3 separate regions of the Homo sapiens genome follow, and regions 2 and 3 are each linked to region 1. Evidence: promoter capture Hi-C in 16 types of primary human blood cells and fetal thymus (Javierre and others, 2016). All regions are on one chromosome and are shown on one strand. Each heading gives the region's core, a stretch centred on a gene start or on the middle of the fragment in contact. The rest is flanking DNA. Distances are from core to core; before and after follow the strand shown. Region 1 holds the start of CCT4 (chaperonin containing TCP1 subunit 4). Region 2 holds the start of LOC105374764 (a long non-coding RNA gene). Region 3 has its middle 6.4 kb from the start of EHBP1.

Region 1 (3,375 bases), core at 463-2,962:
CATGCCCGTAATCCCAGCTACTGGGGAGGCTGAGGCAGGAGAATCGCTTGAACCCGGGAGGCGGAGGTTGCGGTGAGCCGAGATGGTGCCACTGCTCCAGCCTGGGCAACAAGAGTGAAACTCCGTCTCAAAAACAAACAAAAACAAACAAACAAACAACACCACCACCACCTCATAATTACAAGATTAAGTACCTTTGAACATTTGTTTCTGAACCTACCACACGCAACTGTCACTTTGCAGGTGCTTAATAATTGTGAGCGAACATTCAACAAACCTCATTTCATAAACTTCCCTACTGAAATATAGTGGTCATAGGAGACCAGCAGTTTAGCTCATGGCTTCTGGTCCTTGCTTTGTATTGGAATACTGCTTCTATCTACTGACTCGTTTACCCTGGGCTTCAGTTCCTTCTTTGGGCTCCAGTTCTCTCACCTTTTAAGTAAAGGATTATTGTGAGGACTAAACGAGATATAAAACGTGTAAAGGTTTAGCACTGTGCTTAGCAGATAACGGAAATAAATGATCTTTATTATAATGTTTACGTTCCCTAAGAGTCAGTGGCTACGTCATGCAGGAGACACTAGTGTAGAACAAGCGGGCGGTGGTAACTAGACAGACCTGATTTGGCAGTCTGTCAAACCTCCACCACCCAGTATCAACCAATACGAGATAACTAACCTCGCCTCATTCCAAATCTCCCTTTTCTGACTCCCTTTCAAAATGAACAAAACTGCATAAAATGCAGGTCTATGTGGCCGGGCAAAAACAGACTCAGTCATATCCCTTAGAGAGTTATTCCGGCGCCCACCCCACCTCGCGGATAGATCCAGCCGGAGTTAAAGGAGGGCACCTCCGGGTGGGCGCGGTGGCTCACGCCTGTAATCCCAGTACTTTGAAACGCTGAGGAGGGTGGACCGCTTTGAGCCGGGGAGGTCAGACCAGCCTGGGCAACACAGCGAAACCCAGTCTCGCTATGTTTCGAATACAAAAATTCGCTAGGCATGGTGGCGGGCACCTGTCGTCCTGGCTAGTTGGGAGGCTGTGGCGGGAGGATCGCTTGGGCCCCGGAGGTCGAGGCTGCAGTGAGCCAAGATCGCCCCACTGCACTCCCGCCTGGACGACAGAGCGAGACTCTGTCAAAAAAAAAAAAAAAAAAAAAAAAGGCCGGGCTTCGTGGCTGACGCCTGTAATCCCAACACTTTGGGAGCCCGAGGCGGGTGGATCACCTGAGGTCGGGAGTTCGAGACCGGCCTGGCCAACATGGTGAAACCCTGTCTCTACTAAAAATACAAAAATTAGCTGGGCATGGTGGCGGACGCCTGTAATCCCAGCTACTCGGGAGGCTGAGGAGGATCGCTTGAACCTGGGAGGCGGAGGCTGCAGTGAGCCGAGATTTTGCGCCACTGCACTCCAGCCTGGGCAACAGAGTGAGACTGTATCCAAAAAAAGAAAAAAAAAAAAAAAAAAAGGAGGGGACCTCATAGCCGTGCAAGGTGGAGTGAGGAAATGCGGATGTCCTCACCACTCGCCTTTAAAATCGCGCGTTGTCATTGCTGCCTCGCGTAAAGGTTCCCCCGGCGCTCTTCACCCACAGCGCCCCGGGCGTACAATCTCGCCAGCCCGGAGCCCACCGCACGCATCCTCCTCGCCCGGCGCGCAGCGGACAGCCTCCTACGTCACGCCAGCGCCGCGCGGCAAGGAAGGCCCCCTTCTCCGCCTCCGCCTCCTCCCGACGCCGGCGCCGCTTTCTGGAAGGTTCGTGAAGGCAGTGAGGGCTTACCGTTATTACACTGCGGCCGGCCAGAATCCGGGTCCATCCGTCCTTCCCGAGCCAACCCAGACACAGCGGAGTTTGCCATGCCCGAGAATGTGGCACCCCGGAGCGGGGCGACTGCCGGGGCTGCCGGCGGCCGCGGGAAAGGCGCCTATCAGGACCGCGACAAGCCAGCCCAGATCCGCTTCAGCAACATTTCCGCCGCCAAAGGTATCACTCTCATGGCCTGACCCGCGGCGCCGCGGGGTTGTGCTCTGCGCTCTCATCGTGGGCTTGAGCGGGTTTGGCTCATTTCCCATTTCTTCGGGTGATCCTCTCTTGTCCTCCCTATAGAAGCAGCCCAGTGGAGGGATCCTTATTTCTGTTTTTCTGCCGATGATCGCCAACCCGGAGTATGGAGGCCTTTGGACTTGCCCCATTTTGCATCTTAATCTCCCTTAGTTTTTCATCCTGCACTGTGCATCATTCATATTGGAGCCGAAAGCAGTTCAAAATGCCGAGGATTGCATGCAGTCTTCACTAGGGATCTGACGCTTGAGGGCTGTCGCTTATTGCTTATTGGAACTGGTAGAATGCACAGTATCTTTCAGCTTTGTTATTCTTATTTAAAGAACTATTAAATAAACTTCACTTGGCACAACTGTTGAGACGAATTGGGTGAACTCTCCGAGTCTAAATTGGGGCGGGGCCCATTGTACTGGGATGGATGTGGGAACCGACTTACGTGTCGTGTTTGAAATAGTTGCGGAAAAGTTACGTTGATGTCGTCTCCGCATGTGCAGTGAAACATAGGCAAATCAAGAAACAATTATTTGTTTTTTTTGTGGAAGTGTGTGGCACACGTTGGAAATCAGGAAGACCAGAGTTTCATTCTCTGCTTCCGTTACTTCATGTCTTAGTGACCTGTAACCTCTGTGCCAAAGATTCACTTATAAAATTGGAGGAAAATGTTTGCTTTTTAGAGTTAAGATTAAGAGAAATCGAGTTGAAATAGAAAAATCTGGAAGGAAAAGTCAGGACAGAGGTTTAGAGATCTTGCCCGAGTGTATATTGAGTATAGTAGTTCTTTTGGGTTGGAGAATAGTAGTATGTTTACAGAAGAGGTGAGATTAGAAAGCTAGGTTGGGGCAGATGTTAAAGGCCTGGTGTCCTGGAAAGTATTTGGCTTAATCTCCCCCAGCTATGGGATCATTTCTTTTTAGCCATCGTGTAGGCTTGCTGTGAGGATTCAGTGAGAAAGCATATAAAGACCCACGTATATAAAGTACACCTTACATGTGTTTGCAGTCATCAGCCCAAGTAACTGGGAATGTGATGGCGCTAAGATAGGTAACGCTGGATGTAAGAAAAAGTAATAGTTTCTAACTTGTCCTAATGAGTTGGAAAGGTCAGAATGGCCAGATTTAGGAGTCATTTGTAAGTTTAGGAGATAATACACCTGGAAACGAAGGTTTGTAGGATAATTGTCTAGGGACCATAGTTGAAGCTTACATTTATTAGATTAGGAACAGAATGTTGAAAGATAAATTTTGGGTCGGGCAGGGTGGCTCACGTCTGTAATCCCAGCAATTTGGGAGGCTGAGGCTGGCGGATCACAT
Region 2 (3,635 bases), core at 625-3,124, 530 kb before region 1:
TTGAGAGTGAAAAAAGATAATATTAAAAATCCATAGTAATTAATAAATAACAATAAGCCAGGACTGTTCTGGGCGTGACACACATTGCCAGATTGGCCTCCTGAAATGTTTACACTCCCACGGGCAGCTACCAAATGTCCTTGCTCTAAGCCCTTGCCAATGCTGCCAGTCCTATACCCCTACACCCTCTTACTCTCTAGATCCCATCTTCCAAAAAACAACAACCACACACACTGCAAATACCATGAGAGCCCTCACTGGAGATGTGACAGTGGTTGGCAGAGCTGTTTCTCATGGCAGGGAGAGGACAAGTAAGTCTTTGCCCTGGTTAACAATGATTTGACATTTGGTGAGTTCATTTTGTCTTCTGATCCAGGTACATCCACTGGATTAGTTTCAAGGCAGCAATGACCTGCCTTCCTTACCTGCACACAGGCCCAGGTACAGGCTCAGCCAGAAGAGGAATCTCCCAGGAGGGCCTCTCCCCAGGCCCAGGCAGGGAAGCACTGCCATGGATAGCATCTGCCAGGACAAGCTGACCTGCACAAGAGACAGTCCACCGTGAAGAGCCGAGCATGAGTTGGCAGCTGCTGTCAGCTCAAATTGTCCAGTACGCAAACTTGGTCTTCAGAGGACTGACTTCCTCTTGGATAGAAGAACCCTCTGAAACCATGACTGTCAAGAACACACCCAAATAAAGCAGCTGCCGAAACCACAAAAACAGAAAGACTAGATTCATTGTGAAGATGTTTTCTAACATTCAAATGGGCTTTTGTTAGTTTTGTTTTTGATTTTGGTGGAGGTCATTTGAGTCTTGTTATCAAGGTTACAAAGTGCTCTCTGGGAAAAGATCCGGGCCCATTTACCAGGCTGCCTTGCCTGGCTTTGCTTCTCGGGTATGAAATGAACATTGAGAATGCAGACACTGAAGAAAAGACCTCAGGTATCTTTGACTTTTTTTTTTTTTTTTTTTTTGAGACAGGGTCTCAATCTGTCACCCAAGCTGTAGTGCAATGGCACGATCTAGGCTCACTGCAACCTCTGCCTCCCAGGTTCAAGCAATTCTCCCACATCAGCCTCCTGAGTAGCTGGGATTACAGGGGCGTGCCACCACACCCAGCTAATTTTTGTATTTCTAGTAGAGATGGGGTTTCACCATGTTGGCCAGGCTGGCCTTGAACTCCTGACCTCAAGTGATCCATCCACCCTGACTTCCCAAAGTGCTGGGATTACAGGCGTGAGCCACCATGCCCAGCCTATTTTTGACTTTCTGAGTCAAGTAACCAGATGAAACCAGTCCCCTTGTCCACCCAGAGTCCACTCAGGCTATACTTGATTCATACTTTTTTTTTAATTTTTATATTTTTTTTAGAGACAGGGTCTCATTCTGTCACCCAGGCTGGAGTACAGTGGCACAATCACGGCTCACTGCAACCTCGAACTACTGGGCTCAAGCAATCCTCCTGCCTCAGCCTCCCAATTAGCTAGGACTACAGGCACGTGCCACCATGCCTGGGTAATTTTTTAATTTTTTGTAGCAATGGAGTCTCACTATGTTGACCAGGCTGATCTCAAACCCCTGGTCTCAAGCAACCGGCTCCCTTTAGCCTCCCTAAGCACTAGGATTACCGGTGTGAGCCACCACACCTGGCCTGATTCATATGCTAGACTCATATGCTAGAAAAGCCAACCCCAAATGGGCCCTGATAGAGCAATCTTGTTGGGGACAGTTTTACTTGTAAGTAACTGGCTCCCTGACCTACAGAATATAAGCCTTCAGAAAAAGCTTCAGAAAAAGCTCAGCACCCTGCCTCTCTCCTCCAAATAATGTTCCAGGTGATATTCTGCAAGCACACCTGGAAACTTTGCTCTGTTTGTTAACCTAGAAAATTAAATGAGCAAGGGACAGAGCAGGCTGGCCTGGAACAGGGACTGGGTACAAACCAGATCTCCAAAGCTTGGGCTTATTCTCTGAAAGAAATGCTCTTTTTAATTTCAACTCTGATGTCTTGGTGGAGACATTCAACTGGAGATCTGGAGTCTTTGATATAAGCAAAGGCAAGCTTGTGGGATCACCACTGGCTACAGAAAGAAGCCCAGCTCTTTGGCAAAGAAAATCCTGGGCTCAGAGAGTGAAGAGTGTGTCAGATTTCTCACGTCAAAAGTCAGCTTTTGTATTCAGAATGGAGCCAGAAGGTCCTGAATCCAGAATGGCCTAGAGCCTCCCCACATGCTGTCCTAGCGGGGGCTTTAGCAGGTGGATTTTGATAAAGATAGCTTTGGATGCTAAGCATAGAAAAAAAGAGAAATGTTGGCTCTAGGCTGGGTATGGTGGCTCACACCTGCAATCCCAGCACTTTGGGAGGCCAAGGCGGGTGAATCACTTGAGTCCAGGAGTTCAAGACCAGGCTGGGCAACATGGCAAAATCATCTCTACAAAAAATACAAAAATTAGTCGGGCATGGGGTCACCCACCTGTAGTCCCAGCTACTAGGGAGGCTGAGGTGGGAGGATCAATTGAGTCCATGAGATCAAGGCTGCAGTGAGCCGTGTTTGCGCCACTGCATTCCAGCCTGGGTAACAGAGAAAGACCTTGTCTCAAAAAAGGAAAAAGAAAAAAGTTGGCTTTAGCACCTCGAACCCTAGATGACTTCCTGAGTGTCATATTCTTTGGCTGCTACTCTGGAGTCACATCTCAGGGAAGATCCAGACAGACGGCTTTGGTCTTTGTGTTTGTAGGTCCTTTTTCCCTCAGATACTCACCTGCCCTACTCCCTCACCTCATCTATGCCTTTGCACAGATATTAGCAGATATCTGTGCTGATAAAAGTTGCGACTGCACCAGGCACAGTGGCTCACACCTGTAATCCCAGCACTTTGGAAGGCTGAGGCAGGAGGACTGCTTAAGGCTAGGGGTTCAAGACCAGCCTGGGCAACACACCAAGACCTTATCTCTGAAAAAAAAAAAAAAAGTTGTAGCTCATCAATTACCCTATCTGAAATAGCCCTGAATCCCCTGCCTTATTTTCCTTTATTGCACTTGTTACTACATCCCATTATATTTTACATGTATGTGTTTAATATTTGCCTCCCTAGTTAAAATGTAAAGTGCATGAAAGGAGACATTTTTATTTATAGTCAGGTCCGCAGATCTTAGGACAGTGCCTGGCACATAATAAAAGCACAATAAATATTTGTTGAATGAGTCTTAGAGTTGAGTCAAACATCAGATAGCAGGTATTTCTACTGGGCAAATGTGGACTCACCCCAGAGGTGTGTAGAAGAGGGTGCAGAGTCTGGAGTAGTTTGGGGTGTAGGTGTCGGGGGAGAGGCAATTGTCTCGGGTGGAAACAAAATCCATGGCTTGTGCCCCTGCAGTTGCAAACACCATGAGTAGACGACAGAGAGAGAGAGAGAGAGAGAGAGAGAGGGAGGGAGGGAGGGGGAGAGAAAGAGAGAGAGAGAGAGAGAGAGAGGGAGGGAGGGAGGGGGGGAGAGAGATTGAGAGAGAGAGAGAGAGAGAGAGAGAGAGAGAGAGAGAGAGAGAGAGAGAGAGAAAACTAATTGTAATTCCTACTCATAGCCACAAGATGGCACTATTGCTCAGAGTCTTTACTCTGAAAAGCCGAATCTAG
Region 3 (3,358 bases), core at 454-2,953, 810 kb before region 1:
CTAATCCCACCCTATTCTGGCACAAACTTGGGAGAAGGGCAGCTGAAATGATAGGATCTATCTATGGTATCTGAGAGCTAATAGAAATATTTTTCTCCTTATTAGAGTCCTGGGGAGGTGGCAAGACCCTTAAGAGAAGAAAAAACTGGGTTGTTATCTAGGCCAGCCAAGATTTTGGAGTGGCACAGTCCAGTAGAACTTTCTATGATGAATATCTACATGGCTGTCCAATGGAGTAGCCATGAGCCACTTGGAACTACTGGACATGCAAAATGTGGCTAGTGTCACTGAAGAAGTTGAGTTTTAATATTATTTAATTTTAATTTATTTATTGGCTACATGTGGCTGGTAGCTACCATAATGGACAGTGCAAACTTACATAGTACTGTGGAGGTTCTGGATGCCCAACACAATTTCCAGACACCCAGAGGGGTACAGAGGCACTGCACAGCCACCAGACCAAAAGAGTCCTTGCTGATGATCCAAAATCAACCCAGCAACAATCCATGGAGCTGGCTGCTAATGAAGATGAATATTAGAACTCTAAGAGGAGCCAGCATAGTAGATGAGAAGCAAGGATTAAATGCCCCATCCCCTTCCCCCAACATAGTGATGCTATGTAAGCCCCCTCAATTGAGATGCAGTTCCTGCCAAATTGACTATGATTAAGTGTTTGCCACCCCTTGTGAAATCAAAGCTTGAAATAGAAATTAGGTTGAGTAATGGGAAAATAAAACTGTGTTTCTTGCCAACCTGAATTTCTTTAGATTGAGATTTATGCCTGTTATATAACCTTAAATAATAACTCTTAATAAAATAATTTAAAACCTATGTTTATTCTCTTAAAAGGTGGCCTTTTTTTTTTACTCTATCATTATAGGACCCAAGTTCTTTGGTTGACATAAAAGCTTAGAAAAGCTGCATTAGAAAACCATCTTTCAATTAGGAACAGTATTCTTTGGTGAAATTGTTTCTGTTGCAGTTACCCATGAACGAATATTTGAAGTTAGTCATAATGAAGCTTTGCACATTGAACCTAAGATTGCACTAATTCTAGGACCTCAGTTGTATACTAAAAATACAATTTTGTCCAGCTCCACAGCATCTAGAAAAGACCAACATGGGCTTGGTTGCTAGAGGCAGAGGAGCATTCTTGACTTCCTTGAAACTCAGGTAGAGACTGAAGCAAATCTACAGATTCTATCCACTGGTGATTCGGCAGGACTAACTTCTGTTGTTAATCTGGAGCAACACAGTGAATGACTAGAAGCTTAGAAATCTTTATATTGCAGGCAACAATGATATTCAAAGTGTGGACATTCAGTGTGTTAACAACATGGCATAGGCATTGATCAGTTAGAATGGATGACAACTGTAAACGTTGGCCTAGTTGTCCCTTTGTGGACTAACTAAATACCAGCCCTAACTCTAGAGTGCCCTTGCTGGTCTATAGCATCCTCTCAATCTAAGCCTTCTAACTACTTAAGATACTTTCATAATGGTGAAGTCCCAGTCCACAAATGTGTATGTCAAGGTAAAAGCAGCTAGCTGAGATAATTTACATATTGCAAATAAGTGGGCCATTACTGGGATTATAGCAGCAAAGATTTGAGTTGGAATTAAGACCTCAGCTGAGAAAGTCATTGCTAAATTCAATAAATTCATCTCCTATAAAATCAGCAGGGATTCTTGACCAAGACTTACTGGTCATTTCCCATGAAATGTTAAGAGCCTTTGGCAAATTATAAGGGGTAGACTGACCTTTGCTTCACTTCTTCTGTGTTTTCAAAAACTGGAAAAAAAATCCAGGTAACCAGATACAGCATCCAGCCAGTGTTTTCCTCTGAATAATTCATAGATGATTATATTTGTATGAGCAAGATAATATAATTAATATCATTCTGAAATAATAAGGCTAGACAGGAAAGGCAAAGAAAAGCTGGTAGAAATTCATAATCTTGGAGGGCATTGACTACAACCCTTGTGGTGTAAAACCAAAGCACTTCCATCCCATACAGTACAAAGAACACACACACAAAAAGCAAAATTTCAAAGCAAGCTGAAAGCAGGCAAAACTCCACTTACCAGGGCACTGGGCATGAGCCAAGGGAAAGTAGCCCTGTTGCTGAAGCTTGTCCCAGATGAGTAGAGCTGGAAAATAAACCCAGCTTTCAAAGGGCAGGATTAACTCATGCACAGTTTGGGCAATCTTCTGGGCAGGGCAAGATAGAGAAAAATTCCAGGGCAAGGGCAATAACATGAGAGCCAGAGAGAGCTGCAATATTGTTCCAGGCCTCTCTTTTCACAGCAAGTCACCCAATTAGTGACTGGGCTTACAGTGATCAGAACGTAGCCTGGGAAGCAAAGATGACTTTGTGAGAGCCGCTGGATATTTCTTCATATTCTGTCACAACTTTTGGATGCTATTTTAAAATATTCCCAATAATGCATCATTGATCTCTTTCTCCAAGAAAAGAAATTCAAGTGTTGAGCAAGTCAGGTTTTTGTGCCATAGTTCAATCTTCCGAAGAAATCCTGCTATCTTTAAAATTTTAAAAATCACAATATTTTATCCCTGAAATAAGTTGAGTCTGTTTTAGATATTGAACATAGTACTGAGTTACCTATATTGAGAGAGCCCCTTGAAACAACTGTCTTGCATTATCAGTGTCCCATTTCTCATTTCAAAAATGTGTGAGCACCTGCTAACCAGCATACTTCAGTGTGGAAAAGGAGAGTGTTATACTTGTGCATGTTTCTTCACATAACACATGCTAAAAAGAGCATATTTAAAGGTCACAACTTGATTATATTTGAAATATTCACTCTTTTCTTGAACAATTAAAGCAAGAATAGGAGGCATATTGTTAACTGTTCAACTTCTCTTATTCTTGTAATAACACTCTTTCTAGCTATTCACAAAACTACCTTGTGCCAATCAGTTTGTTTGCCATGTGTCTTGTCCAGCCTACAGCTGAACAAGATAACAATTACCAAAATCCTGCAGTGACTTGTCAGTGATAAAAAGACCAACTTGTTGAGTACTTCTCTCTAACACATATAGAGCTGTAACATGAAATTGCTGCACAGCGTGTATAATGGGACCTGGTCTTCAACATTGTATGCTATGGATGTATGCCCAAGAATGTTACTGGATCAGTTTTGCCAATAGTTCATTCTGTTTTCTCTTATTAATTTCCCTTAATAATATCTTATTAACTTTCAGTTGACTTTGCAAGTTCTAAGGCAACAGGTTCAAGAGTACAACTTTGAATGATAGCTTTTTCATTTTGATTTTCTTTGATGATATTTTTAGTGAAAAATCTGTTAATTTATTAAGAAATATTCAGTGAATAAT

What was found. The method cuts DNA at HindIII sites, captures the fragments that hold promoters and counts their contacts. A CHiCAGO score of 5 or more calls a contact.
Region 2: a fragment that was not itself captured here is called in contact with the fragment with the promoter of CCT4 in region 1 in 17 of 17 cell types (naive CD8 T cells, activated CD4 T cells, total CD8 T cells and 14 more); the score reaches 18.7 in naive CD8 T cells.
Region 3: a contact is called between a fragment that was not itself captured here and the fragment with the promoter of CCT4 in region 1, in 1 of 17 cell types (monocytes). The highest score is 7.0, in monocytes.

The regions. Positions count from the first base shown.
Region 1 is chr2:61,886,993-61,890,367 of GRCh38, reverse strand. It overlaps CCT4 (chaperonin containing TCP1 subunit 4), which reads left to right and starts at 1,712. Exons shown (of 14, transcript NM_006430.4): 1 at 1,712-1,987. The coding sequence starts at 1,861. It also overlaps a transcript of COMMD1 not described here. RefSeq lists enhancers at 443-1,002, 1,942-2,021, 1,563-2,122, 2,123-2,684. The HindIII fragment of the contact is 8,675 bases long and covers 1-3,265 here.
Region 2 is chr2:62,412,220-62,415,854 of GRCh38, reverse strand. It overlaps LOC105374764 (a long non-coding RNA gene), which reads right to left and starts at 662. Exons shown (of 6, transcript XR_002959390.2): 1 at 426-662. RefSeq lists an enhancer at 431-500. The HindIII fragment of the contact is 171 bases long and covers 1,789-1,959 here.
Region 3 is chr2:62,697,677-62,701,034 of GRCh38, reverse strand. It overlaps a transcript of EHBP1 not described here. Among named protein-coding and RNA genes, the nearest start is that of EHBP1, 6.4 kb to the left of the region's middle. The HindIII fragment of the contact is 861 bases long and covers 1,273-2,133 here.